6 separate regions of the Homo sapiens genome follow, and regions 1, 3, 4, 5 and 6 are each linked to region 2. The links are contacts of gene promoters, found by promoter capture Hi-C in blood cells and fetal thymus (Javierre and others, 2016). All regions are on one chromosome and are shown on one strand. The core of a region is centred on a gene start or on the middle of the fragment in contact, and the rest is flanking DNA. Distances in the headings are between cores, read along the strand shown. Region 1 holds the start of PIGV (phosphatidylinositol glycan anchor biosynthesis class V). Region 2 holds the start of RPS6KA1 (ribosomal protein S6 kinase A1). Region 3 holds the start of GPN2 (GPN-loop GTPase 2). Region 4 holds the start of KDF1 (keratinocyte differentiation factor 1). Region 5 has its middle 2.8 kb from the start of SFN. Region 6 has its middle 6.7 kb from the start of GPATCH3.

Region 1 (3,055 bases), core at 68-2,567, 260 kb before region 2:
GAAAATTCGGTTCAAAGGCAAGCTTCTGAAAGCCCCAGACAGTAACGATAGTTTGTGAATCTAAACGTTTCCAACGTATGACTCGCTGAATCGAGAGAAATCACGGAAATGGGCATACTCAACCTCACGCGGCTACTCCTTCCCTATCCTAGGGCGAATTCACTCTTTTTTCCTCTTCCTTGGCTTCCCACGCGCATGCAGAAGAGAAGCTGGGATCAGAAAAGCACCTAACCCACCTCTGCCACTTGACCATGCTTGCATTCTTCCTTTCCTCTCTCGAGTCAAGCTCTAGCCTCAGCGACTACAGATGTGTGTAGCCCACACTTTGCTTACAGGTAAACCAAGTAAAAACAAAGCTAGTCAATTCTCCCTCTCAGCTAATTGCCCACCTCACTTCCCAACAACCCCTTTGCCAAATCACAGACTCTTAACTGGCAGGACACTTACAGATCAACTAGTTTCACTCTTCAAAAATTTTCCCGTGAGATAAATAGGCTCCAGAGATCTCATCAGACACTGTGAGGCTAGTATAATTACCATCGCCATTTTATGGATATGGAAACTGAGGCTCACTGGGGTCAAGTGACGTACCCAGGGCTACTTAAAGAGGCTGTCATGTTTTCTGCTTCTTAAACCTCACGGTACCAGCCCGCATCCCTCGCCAAAGGGTACGCGCCCTTTCCGAGCCAGGATTATGACCCAGGTCACCCAAACGCCTAGCCCAGTACTTCCATGCCGCAGCCTGCCCTTGCTAGGTATGCTTAGGGTAGTTGGGCCCTATCTGAGAATCTGGGACATCCTGTTGAACGGCAGCTCTGGACCCTCTGGGTAAGACTAACACCCCCTGCGCAGGCTGGAGAAGTCGCTCTGACCCAGGGTCCTCAGAGCCAAAGGCCTCGTGGGGGCTGCCTTCTGTCAGCCCAGCCGTGTCCGCAACCCGTTTCTGGCCGGCTCCTTTTGGACACAGTCCCTTCTGGGTACTAATCATCCACGCTCACCCCAGAGGGGCCACGGCCCAAGGACCACTCCCGAGGGAGCCTGCAGAGCCCCACCAGGCCACAGGGCCGGAAGCAGACGAGGGCGGGAGGCTGGAAAGGAAGAGGCGGCGCCCGAGGCTGCTATGGCGGAGGGGCGGGGCTCCCCGCTTCTCCGGGCGTCTGTCTCATTTCTACCGGCTTCCATTTGACAGCTTCCCTCCCGCCAGAACTCCAGGGCTCCCAAGCTGGCGCGGGGTCCTCAGCCCCTGCCCGTCCCGACCTCCCCGGCGGGGACCGAACCTCAGCTCCTCCATCCGGGGCCCACGCGGCCCGCGCCTGCGCGCTGGCTCCGCCGACGGCGTCCCCGCCCCGCTCCTGCCCGGACTTGGAGCAGCCCCGCCTCCCTGCGCGGCGGCCATGTTGACTCCGGGCGAGCGGGATGGGGGTCGCCGCTCGGCGCCTCGCCTCGTAGCACCTTCCCACCTTGGTGACACCTGAAGAGTTCTCTCGCACTTCGCTCTCCTTCAAGGCCCCCCGCCACCCCGCCTTCAAATAGTGAGCGGAGGCTGCTGTCTCAGAGTCAGTGCTCTTGCCCCAGCTCCCGCTGACGTTCACTGAGTTCCCGGTGTGGGCCGAGGCTCTTGTAGTCGGAGGCTGACCCGCAGCCTCTTCACAGAAACCAGAGCCGCGCTCTTCCTGCTGTCAGGCAACAACAGCTCAGCACAGGGCCTGACACACAATAGATGTCCTCTGAATAGCCAAAGAAAAACATTCTTGGGGTTTCTGTGGCCGGCAGCGGCACCCTGCGTCCTGGGTGTGAAGAAAGTGGGGGATCCCCCTGATTTTCCCCTCCTCTATCTACCAGAGACCTTCTGTCCTACTTTAGTCCTCAGCCCCACCTCAGGTGGCTAATGAGGATGGTGAAGAAAACCTCAGAGAACACCCTCCAGGGCTCCTTTCACCTCCCTCACCCAAGCAGTTTCTCTCATAGGAAGTGGGGCCAAAAAAAGAAGAAAAAAAAAGAGGCGAACTCAACAAAACCGTCTATTGGGGGGAGCGGCCAGTTTGTACCCTTGTAACGGAAACTGTTAGAACAACTTTGCACCCTCCTTAAAGGAAACAGATGATAAATCCTTCTCCGTTGGTGGATTTCTTGTTTCTCAGGATTCCAAAGCCTTATGTGGTTTCAGTTATCTGCCCTCCAAACGAAGCCAGGGGCCGGGTTAGCCTCTGGCCACAGCCTGGCTCAGGGAGGGGTTTATCTTCTGCAACGGCTACTCATGTGGGTGGGAACAAAGAGATGGTTGCTACCTCTCCAGGCGAAGACCAGCCCACATCAGTCTGTGGGGGCCTGGGACTGTATCTCTTGACTCTGTAACTCATTTCAGGCCCTGAGACCTAAATTGCCTTCAGATATCTGTTGTGTGCAAGGTGGAGAAAAGGCAAATCATATTTAGTCGTTGTGTGTTGGAGAAGGGGGAAAAAATGGAGTTTCATGGCCCTTCCCCCAGGTTTTTCAGTGCCACGCACTTGTTCTCAGCTCCAGAGGCCTGTGAGTAACGTGGCAAAGCCTGGGGACACACTTGTGACTGGGGCCTAAGGCTGTGACTTGAATCTCTAGAAGTCCACCATGAGGCTCCAAGCAGCACTCTCTCTGCAAAGACAAAACTGAGAAATGAACTGTCCTTGCTCTGTAAATTCACAAGGGGAAAAAAGACATGCATTCTCAGGGTTCCCTCTGTCCACATCAAATTCTCTCAAAAATCTATTTGTAAAAAGGCCAGGGGTCTCTCAAGACAAGTCAGAATGTTTTTTAAAAGCTCAGCTGTCACCCTGTAGAGGTAGAACTTTATCCAGATTTTCAGCTGTACTTTCCTGCAATTTCTCTTTTCCTTCTCTGCTACCCAACCCCCTCCTCTTCCGCTCTGTTTCCTGTTTCATTTTCTGACTTCTGCTCTGACAGGAAAACAAGGAAGCTGAATCTTGTGCTCTCAAAGCCCTGACTCCCTGGTTTCAGATTGGAAGAAGGCTAGGTGGGATAGGAGGGGATTCTGGGACTCCAAGGCTTTGAGTAGTGA
Region 2 (2,983 bases), core at 343-2,842:
TCCTAGTAGCGGGGTGGCAGTACAGGGGCTGCAGAGGGCAGTGTTCCTCACCTCAGAGGGTGAGTCAGCGAGAGAACCTCTGAGCAGCCTAGCAGTGCCTGTAAAATCCCCATGGCAGGAATCCCAGAGCAATTTACTCCAAATTGCTCCTTCAGGTTGGTTACCTAATCCTGCCGCGCCCACCCTCCAATAGCCAGTGTCGGCCATCCCTTTAAAGGGGCAGCACACCCTGGGGGCTGGGGACCCTGGGTGCTCACCCTGATCTAAGCCTGTGGTCCTGAGAGGCAGGACACTTGGTGGCTGCCCTAGGTAAGAGAGGGCAGAGGAGGGGACTGAGACAGGGGCTCCAGGCCCAAGCTGGGAGAAAGTCATCTCAGCTCCTGGGCTCAAATGAGGTCTCCATTCCCTCCCTGCATACCCCCAACAACCACCTGGGAAGGAGAATATCACCTGCTTCCTTCCCAGCAAGAGGTTAAGGAGGAAGTTTTCCACCAGCTCATTCAGGGGCTTGACCTTGACCCTGGGGTCAAAAGGCACAGGAAGAGGTGGCCTTCTGCACGCTTAGGGACTGGAGCCACAGAGCCCTCAAGGGAGGTCAGGAGCTGCTTCTGAGAGAGAAGGAGCTGGGTTGTCTGGGGAGTCTGGGCTGGCAGAAGCCAAACTCCCCAAGGGCCCAGCCCTTCCTACCGGAAGGGGCATAAGAAGGGAGGCAGGCACCAAGGTCCCCCCACGCCCTGCCAGGAATCATCTTCACAAGGTCTAAGGGCTCTTCCCCACTCTCGTCTCCACAGCCTGGGGTAGGGCACACAGGTGTCCTCTGGCCCTAGCCTCAGGGCAAAGAAAACCAGGAGTTCCAGCCCCAGACGGGTGGTGCCATCCCACACTCCGCATCCGCCAGGGGTCAAGAGGAGCAATCCTTCTAGGCTCAGCAGCGGTGAAGCCAGAAGCAGGGAGCTCTTGGCGGAGGGCCCTGGGAGAAGTGGGGGTCCCATAACCCCTGTCTCTGGTAGAATCCCAGACATCTGGCACTGAAGATCTCCCCGTCTGCATTAATGGAGGAAGCTCCGACAGCTCTGGACAGATGCCGGGACGGGTCCTAGGTGTGGGGTGAAGGCGACCAGATCTCAGCGCCCCATAGGATCCCCTCTCCTGGCTATGGCGGGGAGGTAGTCGGCGCTTGGCGGAACTGTCCCTCGCACACGCACACCCGGGCATAGGGGGGTGGAGCCGGACAGTGGGCAAGAGATCGGAGGGCACTCGCGCCCTCGCGGGCGCCCGCCGGACTGCAGCGGCGCTTCGGGCCGCCCCGCCCCTGTGAGGATCCGGGCTCGCCGGCCGCGGGCGCCCGTCCCCCGCCCCGCTCACTCACCTCCGGGTCCAGAGGCACTAGCTCCATGAGCGGCCAGGGCTCCTTGAGCTGGGCGAGCGGCATCTCGCCGCCGCCAGGTCACCCGCGCTCCTCCGGCGGCCCCGGCTGCGCCGCCTCCCGGGTCCTGGGGTCCCTGGCTCTGCGACCCGAACCGCCGCGCCCCCCCGAGCCCCTCGCGCTCCGGCTGGGCCGTCCGCCGCCGCCGCCGCGGCACTAGCACTTCGGCTCCCTCCGTCACCCGGCGCCGCCGCGCCCATTGGCTACCTGCGCGGGGGCGGAGCCGGAGAAGCCCCGCCCCAGCCCCCGCGGCGCGGCATTCCCAGCGCGGACCCCCGCCCCCGCCGCGCCCCGAGGGCCGGCCCCGCCCCTGCCGCGAGCCCCCGGCCCGCGCTCGGCTCCGCCGGAGAGGCCCTGCTGGCTCCTTCCCTTCCAGTGGTGTACCCCTGGACACACCACACCAGGGCCACCGTTCTCCCCCGCTCAGCTCTTTTGGAATCCCAGCCCAGATGTTCCTTCTCCTTCCAACGGGAGAGAAGCACCTTATCCCCGACCCCAGCACACACATTCACACTGGGTTCCTGGGCCTGATCTAGGCTGAGGCTTGGAAGGAGCCTGAGACCCACTCCCCTTAGGCCCTCAACTCACCAGGCCCTAGAGATCCCCTATCCTCTAATTTCTACCCCGCCCTGAAGCTAACACTGTGATCTCCGGGCGATCTCAGTGCCCCAGGCCAAGATGGGCATCAGCAGTTGTTACCACCATCAGGACCCATAGTGCCACCACAGAGTGATTGATTGATCGATTGATTTTACATAATGTATATAAATATTACATATATAAATAAATATGTATAAATAAATATTATATATATGCACATATATGTATGTATGTGTGTATATAGTGAGAGAGAGAGAGACACGAAGTTTCGCTTTGTTACCTAGGCTGGTCTCTGACTCCCCGGCTCAAGTGATCCTCCTGCCTCGGCCTCCCAAAGTGCTGGGATTACAGGCATGAGCCACCGCGCCCGGCCAAGAGTGATTTCTTAATATGCGTTTTTGCAATCTGTGCTCTGCCCTATCACTTGAAGGGGGTCCTTTCAGGTCAGGTCTCCCTGGAGTCACCTGCAGCCCCAGCTCTGGACTAGTTTGGGTTTGCGACTCTCTGAGGAGGGACCAGGCTCCCAGGATGAACCGAGGCTTGGTGGGACTTGGAGTGAAAGGCCAGGGAGACTGGTTGCCCCAGAGAGATTCAGCCTCCACCTAAAGAGCCTTAGGGGTCCGGGTGTGCTGAGATGTATTCACATGTGAGGAGTGAGCTTGCTGGAGGGACAAGCTTGCTGGTTTCGCAGGAAGACTGGTCAGTTATTTGCAAAGCTGTTCTAAGGCAGGGGAATGGGAAGGAATGTTTATCAAAAGCTTCCTGCGAGCCATGTGATTTCCTTGAATGATTACCACCACCTAGTTTACAAATCCTGAAACAAGCTCGGAAAGATGAAGTGACTTACCCAAGGTCACACAAGAGGTTGAGAACAGACTAGGGCTTAAAAAAATCAAAGTGTCACACCTGTAATCCCAGCACTGGGAGGCCGAGGCGGGCGGATCACGAGGTCAGGAG
Region 3 (2,955 bases), core at 344-2,843, 360 kb before region 2:
ATTAGCTGGGCACGGTAGTGGGTGCCTGTAATCCCAGCTACTCAGGAGGCTGAGGCAGGAAAATCGCTTGAACCCAGGAGGCAGAGGTTGCAGTGAGCCAAGATGGCGCCACTGCACTCTAGCCTGGGTGACAGAGCAAGACTCTGTCACAAAAAAAAAAAATTAGCTGGGCATGGTGGCATGCGCCTGTAGTCCCAGCTACTCTGGAGGCTGAGGCAGGAGAATCGCTTGAACCCAGGAGGTGGAGGTTGCAGTGAGCCGAGATCACGCCATTACAATCCAGCCTGGGTGACATAGTGAGACCCCATCTCAGAAATAAATAAATAAATAAAGTAAATCTGACTTTTTTTTTTTTTTTAAAGAGTAAGCCCTAAGGCTTAACAAGATCATTCATACCCTTTGTTGGAGGAGTTTGGACTTGATGGTTACTATTAGGAAGTCTGTAGTGACAGAATGAAAATTTTATATGAGGCCCCTTCTTGCTGGCACTGTCAATGGATAGATAAGAGGGCTGGAGAACAAAGACCCAGATTTAAAGCCTCTGTCTTTGGACAAACCAGATATGTAGTAACTACTTCCCCGTCCTCTCCCAACCCCTTTAACTGGAGTTTGAGAGCAGCCTTCTCACTGAGAGCCCGTTTTTATCCAGGTACCATGGAGAGAAGCTACAGCCATTTGGGCAACTGAAGAGGCCCCGTAGAAATGGCTTGGGGCTCATCTCCACCATCTATGATGAGCCTCTACCCCAAGACCAGACGGAGTCACTGCTCCGCCGCCAGCCACCCACCAGCATGAAGTTTCGGACAGACATGGCCTTTGTGAGGGGTTCCAGTTGTGCTTCAGACAGCCCCTCATTGCCTGACTGACCGGGTTGGGGGCTTCCTTTCATAGCTACATGATGAAAACCCTCTGCCCTGGCCTCATCTACCACTGAAGCAGAAAGGAGTCTGGGAGCAGCAGTCTTCGTGGCTGGTTCAGGGTGTTTTGTTCCGAGCCTGCCTGCCTGCCGGTTCTATACCTCAGGGGCATTTTTACAAAAAGCCCCCTCCCGTCCCCTCCCCTTGGATATTAGGGGTAACGACCGCTTGTCTTTGGTCTCTAACCCTAATCTCTGGGCTTGCCCTTTGCCTCCTGCAGAACTTTGAAAAGCTGGGTTGAGTGAGGCTATCAGCACAGCCTTCCTTGGGGACTCTGAAGGTGTCCCCACGAAGGCCAGAAAGGGGGAAAGGGACCTGGGCGAGGAGAGGATTTGTGGTGCTTGGAAGAGCCGGCCTTGGGTGGGCCCTCCACCGCCTCTACCCTCACTGGGTGGGACTGCCAGCGGAGAGTCCGCGGGAGGTGGCTTGGGTGTGCGACGTCACGGAAGAATAAAGACGTTTACTACTGGAGCTCCCTTACTTTTCTAATTCGAGTCTGAAGGTTAGAGAAATTCCGAGAGCGATTTTCCCGCAAAGACCCCACATTCGACCCACTACCCGCGAGAGAAATGCGGCTGCGCCGCCCGCCCCTCGGCGTCTAGCTTCGTCCCCGCCGTGAGGGCGGGACTTCCTCTCGTTGGCTCGCCGTTTCCGACGCTGTCCGGAAGTCGAGTTAGTCTAGTTAGTATCGGCCTGTTATCTCCTTTTGCGCGACACGGTCTCAGCTGTTCCGCCTGAGGCGAGTGACGCTGGCCGCCAACGAGGTATACGTACTGGGACCCTCGCCCTCAGTCTCGTCTCCGGCGCGGCTACCTGCCCCGTTTTCCCTGTGAGTTGACCTGCTCCGGGCCGCGGGCCGCCAATGGCAGGGGCCGCTCCGACCACGGCCTTCGGGCAGGCGGTGATCGGCCCGCCGGGCTCAGGGAAGACCACGTACTGCCTGGGCATGAGTGAGTTCCTGCGCGCGCTGGGCCGGCGCGTGGCGGTGGTGAACCTGGACCCGGCCAACGAGGGGCTGCCGTACGAGTGTGCCGTGGACGTGGGCGAGCTGGTGGGGCTGGGCGACGTGATGGACGCGCTGCGCCTGGGGCCCAACGGCGGCCTGCTCTACTGCATGGAGTACCTGGAAGCCAACCTGGACTGGCTGCGTGCCAAGCTCGACCCCCTCCGCGGCCACTACTTCCTCTTCGACTGCCCAGGCCAGGTGGAGCTCTGCACGCATCACGGCGCCTTGCGCAGCATCTTCTCCCAAATGGCGCAGTGGGACCTCAGGGTGCGTCTCAGGGCGGGGAGGCCCATTTTGCGGATGGAGTAACTGAGACAGGGAGGACAGACGCCACGCCCCCATGTCACACAGGGAGGTAGGGGCTGGGTCGCTTTGGAGTAAAACAGGCATGAGTTCAGAATCTGGCTCTGCTACTGACTGGCTGTGTGGTGTTGATAAGTCAGTTCATCACTCTGAACCTCAGTTTCCTCACGTGTAAAATGTGTTAGTAGCCAACTTGGCGATTTTGGAAGTATGGAAGGGGTTAATGTCGAAAGTGGCATGGAGATTGTTGTAAATTGGTGGGCAAAAGTAAATGAAAGAGTGGAGTCAGATGCCATGGGATTTAAACCCCTTGCCCACTGGGAGGCTCAGTGCAAGACCTCTTGTAAGAAAAAAAAAATGACTCCTATTTCCTGGGAGAAGGAAACCAGGGTGGTTATTAGAAAGAAACAGAGGCAGGAGACTAATGGGGAAAGCTTCCCCTCTGTCCTCAAGCCCTCATTCTCATGAGGGAATGCTGATCCCTGTTTCTCCAGGCCACTCTCACCCTGTCTATTCCCTCCCAGCTGACTGCCGTCCACCTCGTGGATTCTCACTACTGCACAGACCCTGCCAAGTTCATTTCAGTACTGTGTACCTCCCTGGCCACCATGCTGCACGTGGAACTGCCCCACATCAACCTCCTTTCCAAGATGGACCTCATTGAGCATTATGGGAAGCTGGGTAAGAGCTTCTGTTCCAGGCGAAGAGCAGGGCAGCAGCTGGGCTAGA
Region 4 (3,200 bases), core at 392-2,891, 430 kb before region 2:
CATTCTTGTATACATTCTCTCCTGGTGCATTGCACAAGAGCTTACTGTGGCTGTACCATAGGAATGGACTTGCTAGGTTTTAGAGTACACAGATGTTCAACTGCACAAGATGTGACTGTGAAGTGAGGATGTGACTCATTCTCTGAGCTCCAAATAAGAATACAATGTGCACTTTCCTCAGGAGGGAATGTGGACAAGATGTGGTGGGAGGCGCTGGGATGGAGGGTCTCTGGTGGAAATTGAACACCTATGCCTAATGCATCCCAGTGATATCTTCCTGTTGCATCCATGATCTCTTTTAATCCTCCCAGTTAAAGAGAGGTACTACTATCTCCAGAGATTAGGTTTAGAGAAGGAAAGTGCCTTGCCAAAAGTCAGTTTGTGCCAACTGCCTGAGCAAACAATGTCCCCTCTCTAAGCTTCAGTTTCCTCTTACTGTAAAATGGATATGATAATACCTGACCCACTTCACAGATTAACGGCTTCGGCATGCATGGCTCCTGGAGATGCTCCCTAAAAGTCACTTGTTTGTTTGTTTGTTTTGTTTATTTGAGACAGAGTCTCGCTCTGTCGCCCAGGCTGGAGTGCAATGGCGCGATCTCGGCTCACTGCAACCTCTGCCTGCTGGGTTCAAGCCATTCTCCTGCCTCAGCCTCCCGAGTAGCTGGGATTACAGGCACTTGCTACCATGCTAGGCTAATTTTTTGTATTTTTAGTAGAGACTGGGTTTCACTATGTTGGCCAGGCTGGTCTCAAACTCCCACCTCGCGATCCTCCCGCCTCGGCCTCCCAAAGTGCTGGGATTACAGGCATGAGCCACTGCGCCCGGCCAAGTCACTTGTTTATTAATGCTATTGTTAAGTTATTGAGTTGTTATTAATATTAAGGGGAACAGTAACCCAGAATAGTCTGAGCCTTGCCTTATTGACATTCAATGGTGTTGCCTCTTGCAGAGACCTTTTTTGGATGTAGTGACCATGGCCCATTTTGGCCACCACTTCTGATCCTGGATGTATCTTTCAGAGCTGCATATCCGGTCCCCCTCCTCTACCCTACTCGGGGCCTCAGAGCTGAGGTTCCTGTCTTTACCTGCAGATTTCTCTGAACAAAAGAAAAGGTAAACTGATCAGCGGCCCAGGCTCCCAGTTCTGCCTCAGGGCAAAGGGAGAAATTGGGGCCCAGGGCCTCATTCAGTGGAAAATATTTGTTGAACACCTAGTATGTGCCAGGACCTGTGCTGAGCACCAGGAACACAGGGGAACAAGACCAAACCCTGCAAGGTAGGAGGCTAAAGGAGGAGACAGAAGACAACAAAACGACAGTGTGCTGAGTACAGGGACTGTTCTAACCAACAGAAAAACAGACAGGATCAGGGAAAGCTTCCCAGAAGAGAGCTTCCCTTTGAGTTGGAGCTTTACGGCCGGGCAGAAGTTCCACAGGTGCTCAGAGACTGACAGGACCACCAGCCTGTTGAACAGAAGAGGAGACTGAGCCCCAGCGCCTCTCGACCCCTCCCCGCCACACCTCACCTACCCGGACTAGGCTGAACGGGCCGAGCACTCGAGCGGGGACGCGCAGCTCTGCAGAGCCCCGGGGCGGGGCCTCGGTCCAGGTGCGCGGTAGCGCTTCGCGGAGGCAGGAAGTGTGTCCCTAGCGGCGGCCCGTGCAGCGCTCCCGCGAGACGCTCACCTGCGCCCCAGGTGAGCGGCGAGGGGGCGGGGGAGGGGCTGAGCCGGAGGCGGCTCACCTGGCGGGACAGGTAAGCCCGGCGCGGGCCCAGGGGGGCGCAAGCCAGGGCGGCGCCGGTGTCGGGAGCCCCCCGAAGCTGAGCCCGGACAGGAGAGGGTCCCGGGCCCGGTTCCTCGGGGGCCACCCTCCTACTTCCGGGGTGCGCGGGCCGGGCTGGGGAGCGGCCTGAGCGGGCGCCCGGGCTGGGCGCGCAGAATGGGGTGAGGGGCCGCGTTCGCCCTTAGGGCTGCACTGGCTGGGTGCGGGGGCCGCACTCACCGGGGGGCAGCGTCGGGATGGGACAAACGCTGGTGCTCACCCCGAGGAACAGCGTCGGGACGGGAGGGAGGCTGGGTCCGCCCGCGGGGTAGGGCCCTTGCAGCTGGAGAGGGTAGTGCTCGCCCCGAGGGCAGAGTTGGTGTAGGGGCTGTGGTAGCCCGGGGGACAGTGCCAGGATCTGGTTCTTCCTTGTCCCCAGGACTAGCTGCCCGCGGATATGGGACTCTCGGGCTGCACCTTTGGGGCAGGAGGCCGAGGGTGCACTGAGCCGACGGCTGTTTCTCGAGCAGGACTGGGGTGGTCCTCCCCGGCCGGGTGTCCGAGGCTTGGCACTGGGCTGGGGGCAGAGGCTGGTGCGGCCGGGCCTGTCCTGGGGACCCTCGGAGGAGGGGACGGTACATAGACCCTTGAGTGTGTGTGTGTGTTCGCGGGACTAAGGGGGAAGAGGAAAGCATCAACGAGAAATCCAGGGAGGGCGGGCCGGGACCCTCTGACCCCCGGGAACATCCTTGCGGTGCCTTAGATCGCCTAGTGACCTAGCCCCTCCCATGGGCAAGGCCACTGCGGGAAGCCCCCTGCACTCAATATTTCATTTAAATCTCACGGGATTGGCGGGGCATGAAGATACTAGTCTCTCCTTATTTAAAGATGAGGAAAGTGAGGTTAAGAATCTTGCCTCAAGCCACAATAGGGACAGGGAGTCTCCCCTCACTAAACCAAGTGACCAGGTTCCTAGGATTGGGCGGGGTGGTGGCGGGGCGGTGGCAGCAGGGTCGGGGAGATACAGCCTGGAAGAAACTGCCTGAGTTTGACTTCAGGAGGGTTCAATGGCTGGAGGGAAGTGGGGAACTGAGGCAGGCATTGTCCTTATCCCAGGTCTTCTCTTCTCATCCCACCACCGCTGGAGATGTGTGGCACACACAAAGTACGCAGGCTTCAGAGCCTGGCGGGCCACAGTGCAAATCTTACTCCAGCCCTCTCTTGCTAGGTGTCTCTGGGCCAGTCACTTCACCTTTCTGAGCTTCAGATTCCTGATCTGTGAAATGGAGATATACTACTTATTTTCAGAGCAATTGTGAGAGTCAAATAAGGTGAAAGTCCTCTGGCCCATTCACTGCTGTTTTCTCAGCATTTAGCACAACGCTGGGCACCTCGTTGTATTAATTTAATCAATAATAGAGAGTCCTAAAGCT
Region 5 (3,159 bases), core at 102-2,601, 330 kb before region 2:
TCTTTCCTTTTTTTTTTTTTTAAATAGAGAGCAGATCTCACTACATTGCCCAGGCAGGTCTCAAACTCCTGGGCTCAAGCGATCCTCCTGCCTCAGCCTCCCAAAGTGCTGGGATTATGGGCATGAGCCACTGTGCCTGGCCTGTTCCTTCCTTTTGACCATTGCCCCATCTCTGACCCCTGGCAGAGTCCTCAGAGATGGAGACCTCTGTTGCCAACGTTCTTTCCCTGCTTGCCGGAGCCCTGGCCTCAAGTTTCATCAAGAGTTTCACCTAAGGGTGTTGGCATTGAGCCTATAGGGATGGATTCCTGCTTATCTGCCCCACCCATAGCCAAAGCTTAGATGGGGCTCAGAGGTAGGGCTCCCTTCACTGGGATTCTGCCGACCTAATAGTTGAGCCAGGATAATTTCACAGGCCTGTGTCTCCCCCAGCTACTCTGAGTGTCTGAACACTCATCTTCCCTCCTGGAGGGAGGCTTAGGCCAGAACTCTGGGGACCAAAGACGAGATCCTTCTCTTTGCCACAAGGAGGAGTAGGGACATGTCTGGGCTAATGCTACAGGGTTTCCAAGGAAGTAAAGGGGATTTTAAGTTTGACGTCCCAAAGATTTTGCTCAAATCAGAGAACTGACACAGAAAACAATAGGAACCACACTAAAATACCAACTTCTAGAGGGTATCTTGAGGTAGTGAGAGTGAGTGATTTTGCTTCCCTTTGATTTTCTTTCTTCTCAATTTCCTTTTTAGAGATAGGGTCTTACTCTGATGTCCAGGCTGAAGTACAGTGGTATGATCACAGCTCACTGCAGTCTCAACCTCCTTGGCCTCAGGTGATCCTCCTGCCTCAGCTTCCTAAGAATAAGGTGCTCACCACAACGCCCAGCTAATTTTTGTATTTTTTTGTAGAGACAGGGTCTCACCATGTTGCCCAGGCTGGTCTCGAACTTCTGGGTTCAAGCAATCCTCCTGCCTTGGCTTCCCAAAGTGCTGGGATTACAGGTGTGAGTCACTACACCTGGCCCTTTTGATTTTCTTATTCTCTCCAATTTATAAATAGTGAATATAGGTCGGACGCGGTGGCTCACGCCTGTCATCTCAGCACTTTGGGAGGCTGAGGTGGGTGGATCACAAGGTCAGGAGATCGAGACCATTCTGGCTAACCCAGGAAAACCCTGTCTCTACTAAAAATACAAAAAATTAGCCGGGCATGGTGGCACATGCCTGTAGTCCCAGCTACTCGGGAGGCTGAGGCAGGAGAATCGCTTGAACCCGGGAGGCGGAGCTTGCAGTGAGCCGAGATGGCGCCACTGCACTCCAGCCTGGGTGACAGAGCAAGACTCCGTCTCAAAACAAAACAACAACAAAAAAGTGAATATGTATTGTTTGTCTATGAGATACAGAATAGACTAGTATCTTTGGAATCAGACTGCCTAAATGTAATTCTTATAGCTGTTTGTGGCCTTGGCCAAGTGATTTAAGCTCTGTGAGCCTCAGTTCCTGTAACTATAAAATGGGACTTGTGAGGATTACACGAGTTAATGGAAAGCACAGTAGAATGGATGGCAACTATTATTATTATTATTTTCTTTTTTTTGAGACGGAGTTTCGCTCTTGTCACCCAGGCTGGAGTGTAGTGGCACAATCTCAGCTCACTGCAACCTCCACCTCCTGGGTTCAAGTGATTCTCCTGCCTCAGCCTCCCGAGTAGCTGGGATTACAAGGGTGCACCACCACACCCAGCTAATTTTTGTATTTTTTTTTTTTTTAAGTAGAGATGTGGTTTCACCATGTTGGCCAGGCTGGTCTCGAACAGCTGACCTCAAGTGATCCACCTGCCTCAGCCTTCCAAAGTGCTGAAATTATAGGCATAAGCCACCATGCCCGGCCAGATGACAACTATTATTATCATGTGAAAAAATCCCGTCAACTTTATTATGATCAACATATACTCACAAAGCACTAACATAGAGTTAGGTTCTGTGAAATGAGGAAGGACCCCAAGCCAGGACTTAGCCAAAGGCCAGACCTTCCCAGCTGGGTGTCTACAGGGGAGAGGAAGCAGTTTGCCCATAGCCTTCTCTCTCCAGATGGATGAATGGCCAGATGTGCTCAGCACTGCCTCCTTCCTCTCCATCTAGGACAGGCGTGTCCAATCTTTTGGCTTCCCTGGGCCACATTGGAAGAATTGTCTTGGGCCACACATAAAATATACCAACACTACCAATAACTGATGAGCTAAAAAAAAAAAAAAATTTGCAAAAAAATCTCATAATGTTTTAAGAAAGTTTACTAATTTGTGTTGGGCTGCATTCAAAGCCATTCTGGGCCACATGCAGCCTGTGGGCCGTGGGTTGGACAAGCTTGATCTAGGATATTCCTGTGACCTCAGCAGGTCCTGGAACCTCAGGGGCCTTCATTTGTACTAGTCATCCAGCCGGGGCTTCCCCAAGTCCTGGGGAAAGCTGGAGATCCCAGGACACTGGGAACCTGGAAGGCAGGCCCAGGAACTTTGGAGCCTGAGTCCAGGGAGGGACCATTTGCTTCCCGCCACTTAAGCCAGAGGACCTGGTGGTGGTTCACGCCCTCCGCATAGCCATGAGCAAGGGCAAGGAAGCCCCTTCATTCCTACTCCTCCCCTGCTGGAGCTCAGGGGTGCATCTGGGAGCCAGGCTGCCTGATACCTCCTGCCCGCTCTGGCCTGTTGATCCTGACTCAGTTCCTGTCTCAGGTACCTCCCTTTGCCTCTGGGCCTCCATTTCCCAAGTTCAGGAGCTCAGACGGGCAGGAGGCAGCAGGCCCTGGCAGGGCATGGAGCTCCACAGTCAGCTGTCTGAGTCAGCAGGACAGGAGCTGGGGTTGCAGCTCAAAGGGGCTTTCCTCATTCTGCCTGCTACCTCCCCACCCTCCTGTACAGCATCCATTCTACCAGCAGGCTCAGGGGCTCTGGCCCCATAGTCAACCAATCCTTCTTAGCTGGTAATAATAGGCTTTGAAGGGTTGTGATGAAGAAAGCAGCAACCATTTGCTCTCTACCTCCACTGAGGACAGAGGACAGGGCTCTGATAGCAGTGGGAGGGACACCAGGTAGATTCTAGAAAGAACTTCCTAAGAAATGTTTCTGTCTTGGAATGATCAAATTAAACAGGTGGCCAGAGGAAG
Region 6 (3,087 bases), core at 68-2,567, 380 kb before region 2:
AAAGTAAAATAAAATAAAGTAAGCTAGGTATGGTGGCTTATGTCTGTAGTCCCAGCCACTCGAGAGGCTGAAGTGGGAGGATCACTTGAGCTGGGAGTTGGAGGCTGCAGTGAGCATGGGAGCATCACTGCACTCCAGCCTGGGTGACAGAGCAAGACCCTGTCTCAAAACAAATAAAAAAACAACAAGAAAAATCTCTACCTTGATCCTTTTCAAATTTCTTCCCTACCAATCCACATGGTTGGGGAGCTACACTTCTGTTTCTTGTCTGCGTTTCTTGAGTCATTCCCCGTGCCCTATTTCCTTGCCTTGAGCAAAGAACATAAAGACAAATATGGCAAAACTAAAGAGATAATTACGGTACAATGTGGTAAGGGGAATCGTGCTTTCTCCATGAGACTGTAGGCTTTCCAAAAGTGGGGAAGTATGTCTCCATGATCAGCATCCTGGGTTGGGATCTGTGTCTCATTGCCAGTGAGGGAAGAGGAGGAAACAGGCTCAGATGGCGTATGTAACTTAAGGTCTGGGCTGATCACTGTCTGTGCTAAGACTCTTTTTTTTTTTTAGATGGAGTTTCACTCTTGCTGCCCAGGCTGGAGTGCAGTGGCGCGATCTCGGCTCACTGCAACCTCCGCCTCCCGGGTTCAAGCAATTCCGTTGCTTCAGCCTCCCAAGTAGCTGGGATTACAGGCACCCACCACCACGCCTGGCTAATTTTTGTATTTTTAGTAGAGACAGAGTTTCACGATGTTGGCCAGGCTAGTCTCAAACTCCTGACCTCAGGTGATCCACCTGCCTTGGCCTTCCAAAGTGCTGGGATTACAGGCATGAGCCACCGCACCTGGCCTGTGCTGAGACTTGTACTCAAACCTGTGAAGTTCTGGAGGGTTCTTGTCAGCAGCACAAGCTGGAGTGAGTCATGGCCAGGATCAAGCGGTCTGGAACCAGCTCAGCCACTGTTGACTGACCATCTACCTCTGAGCCATGATTCCTGTCCTCAGGCCCAGCCAGGGATGACTCACTGGAAAGCAGGAGAGTGGCTGTGGCTCTGGGTCAGCCTAGAGTACCATTTTATTGCCATCATTATCTCTATCTTCATTAGCCAAATCGTTGACTGCCTATTAAGTAGTCAGACAGCTGACGCATGCTGTGTCCCGCATTAACTCCACCCTGTCCTTGGGGCATTCAAATATCCTAGAACCCGTGATGCTGGCAAAAAGCCAACACCCACTATCCATCCATTAATTCATTCTATCACTCAATGTCTCTCAACCTCCATTTGTACCAACCCCTGTACTAGATGCTGGGGTAGGGGGCACAGAATAAATAAGATACATTTCTTACTCTCATGAAACATCTTGTCTGTGGCAGAGGAAGACATGTAAGTAATTGTAATGCAGAGTGATCTGAGCTGTGATAGGGGTACATACAACAGGCAACAGGAGAGATTAAATCTGCCTGAAGGTGGGAAAAATGCTTTACCCAAGTGGTGACTGGTTTGAGCTAAAGAGAATGAACAGGGTTTTGCTAGGCAACCCAAGGGATGGGCATTCCAAACAGATATATGCAAAGGCACAGAGATGTCAGAGAGCAAGAGGTGCTTAGTTAACTGCAAGTGATGTGTGGGGCCCAGGGTAGGAGGAAATGGGCCTGGAGAGATGACAGGGACCACCTCACAGAACAAGACAGCAAAGAAAGGAAATCCCAATGAAACTGGTGGAGGCGACAATGCTAAGATCTCAGGGGAGTCAGAGTTAACAAAGGAGACCTCCTCTTCCTGGCAGGGTATGGCCAGAAGAAACCCCAGGCTGTGGGTGCTCACTCTGGGTAGCTACTAAACTATAACCACATTAACATTTATTTATTTATTTATTTTTATTATTATTATTTTTTTTGAGACGGAGTCTTGCTCATTCGCCCAGGCTGGAGTGCAGTGGTGCAATCTCAGCTCACTGCAAGCTCCACTTCCCGGGTTCACACCATTCTCCTGCCTCAGCCTCCCGAGTAGCTGGGACTACAGGCGCCCGCCACCACGCCCGGCCAATTTTTTGTATTTTTAGTAGAGACAGGGTTTCACCATGTTAGCCAGGATGGTCTTGATCTCCTGACCTCATGATCCGCCTGCCTTGGCCTCCCAAAGTGCTGGGATTACGGGTGTGAGCCACCACGCCCGGCCCACGTAACATTTATTGAGAGCTGTGCTCTAAACACATTTCCTGGATTATGGTATTTCACTCTCACAACTCTGTGCTGGAAGTACTATCATTATCTCCAACCGCTTTATCTTTCTTTTTGAGACACAGTCTCATTCTGTTGCCCAGGGTGGAGTGCTGTGGTGCGATCTCGGCTCACTGCAACCTCCTGGGTTCAAGCGGTTCTTGTGCCTCAGTTTCCCGAGTAGCTGGGATTACAGGCATGCGCCACCACACCCAGCTAATGCTTTTTGTATTTTTTCGTTTTTTTTTGAGACAGAGTCTCACTCTCTTGCCCAGGGTGGAGTTCAGTGGCGCGATCTCAGCTCACCGCAACCTCCACCTCCCAGATTCAAATGATTCTCCTGCCCAACCTCCCAAGTAGCTGGGATTACAGGCATGCGCCACCACGCCCTGCTAATTGTGTATTTTTAGTAGAGACGGGGTTTCTACATTTGGTCAGGCTGGTCTCAAGCTCCCAACCTCAGGTGATCCGCCCGCCTCGCCCTCCCAAAGTGCTGGGATTACAGGCGTGAGCCACTGCGCTCGGCCTTTTATGTATTTTTTAGTAAAGGCGGGGTTTCACCATGTTAGCCAGGTTGGTCTCAAAGTCCTGACCTCAGGTGATCCACCCACCTCCACCTCCCAAGGTGCTGAGATTATAGGCATGAGCCACTATGCCCGGCCTCCATCCATTTTATAGACAAAGAAACTCAAGGAGTGAAGGATGTGCCAATGTGCCAAACTGGTATCTTGATCATTTTGGGTTGAAAATCTTGGAGAAATTGTAGTTTCAGAAAGGGTGAGCTGACCTGCCTCTTCCTGCATGCAGCAAGCCATCAAGATTCCTCTGTGAGGGATACCCTCCCTATACCAGGGCAAAAAATTACCCCTG

What was found. Contacts are between HindIII fragments. The CHiCAGO score rates a contact against its expected background, and 5 or more counts as called.
Region 1: the fragment with the promoter of PIGV here is called in contact with the fragment with the promoter of RPS6KA1 in region 2 in 3 of 17 cell types (naive B cells, M1 macrophages and megakaryocytes); the score reaches 6.3 in naive B cells.
Region 3: a contact is called between the fragment with the promoter of GPN2 here and the fragment with the promoter of RPS6KA1 in region 2, in 3 of 17 cell types (neutrophils, endothelial precursors and M1 macrophages). The highest score is 8.6, in neutrophils.
Region 4: the fragment with the promoter of KDF1 here is called in contact with the fragment with the promoter of RPS6KA1 in region 2 in 3 of 17 cell types (fetal thymus, endothelial precursors and non-activated CD4 T cells); the score reaches 6.9 in fetal thymus.
Region 5: a fragment that was not itself captured here is called in contact with the fragment with the promoter of RPS6KA1 in region 2 in 3 of 17 cell types (erythroblasts, neutrophils and endothelial precursors); the score reaches 7.9 in erythroblasts.
Region 6: a fragment that was not itself captured here is called in contact with the fragment with the promoter of RPS6KA1 in region 2 in 1 of 17 cell types (neutrophils); the score reaches 8.1 in neutrophils.

What each region holds. Positions count from the first base shown.
Region 1 is chr1:26,786,212-26,789,266 of GRCh38, reverse strand. It overlaps PIGV (phosphatidylinositol glycan anchor biosynthesis class V), which reads right to left and starts at 1,317. Exons shown (of 4, transcript NM_017837.4): 1 at 999-1,317. RefSeq lists enhancers at 678-877, 565-1,391, 1,438-1,877, 2,398-2,547 and a silencer at 1,178-1,387. The HindIII fragment of the contact is 3,281 bases long and covers 25-3,055 here.
Region 2 is chr1:26,528,370-26,531,352 of GRCh38, reverse strand. RPS6KA1 (ribosomal protein S6 kinase A1) reads right to left here and starts at 1,592. Exons shown (of 22, transcript NM_002953.4): 1 at 1,370-1,592. The coding sequence starts at 1,432. LOC124903884 (a long non-coding RNA gene) reads left to right here. Exons shown (of 2, transcript XR_007065558.1): 1 at 1-155; 2 at 792-2,233. RefSeq lists enhancers at 1-75, 76-986 and a silencer at 1,228-1,707. The HindIII fragment of the contact is 9,367 bases long and covers 1-2,703 here.
Region 3 is chr1:26,888,921-26,891,875 of GRCh38, reverse strand. It overlaps GPN2 (GPN-loop GTPase 2), which reads left to right and starts at 1,593. Exons shown (of 5, transcript NM_018066.4): 1 at 1,593-2,190; 2 at 2,751-2,907. The coding sequence starts at 1,780. GPATCH3 (G-patch domain containing 3) reads left to right here. Exons shown (of 7, transcript NM_022078.3): 7 at 650-1,388. The coding sequence ends at 866. RefSeq lists enhancers at 1,250-1,519, 2,030-2,199, 1,555-2,432. The HindIII fragment of the contact is 6,723 bases long and covers 1-2,662 here.
Region 4 is chr1:26,958,909-26,962,108 of GRCh38, reverse strand. KDF1 (keratinocyte differentiation factor 1) reads left to right here and starts at 1,641. Exons shown (of 4, transcript NM_152365.3): 1 at 1,641-1,759. RefSeq lists a silencer at 357-651 and an enhancer at 1,521-2,203. The HindIII fragment of the contact is 1,819 bases long and covers 1,382-3,200 here.
Region 5 is chr1:26,858,728-26,861,886 of GRCh38, reverse strand. No RefSeq gene overlaps it. Among named protein-coding and RNA genes, the nearest start is that of SFN, 2.8 kb to the left of the region's middle. The HindIII fragment of the contact is 2,023 bases long and covers 340-2,362 here.
Region 6 is chr1:26,905,657-26,908,743 of GRCh38, reverse strand. It overlaps a transcript of NUDC not described here. Among named protein-coding and RNA genes, the nearest start is that of GPATCH3, 6.7 kb to the right of the region's middle. RefSeq lists enhancers at 2,083-2,584, 2,622-3,087. The HindIII fragment of the contact is 8,297 bases long and covers 1-3,087 here.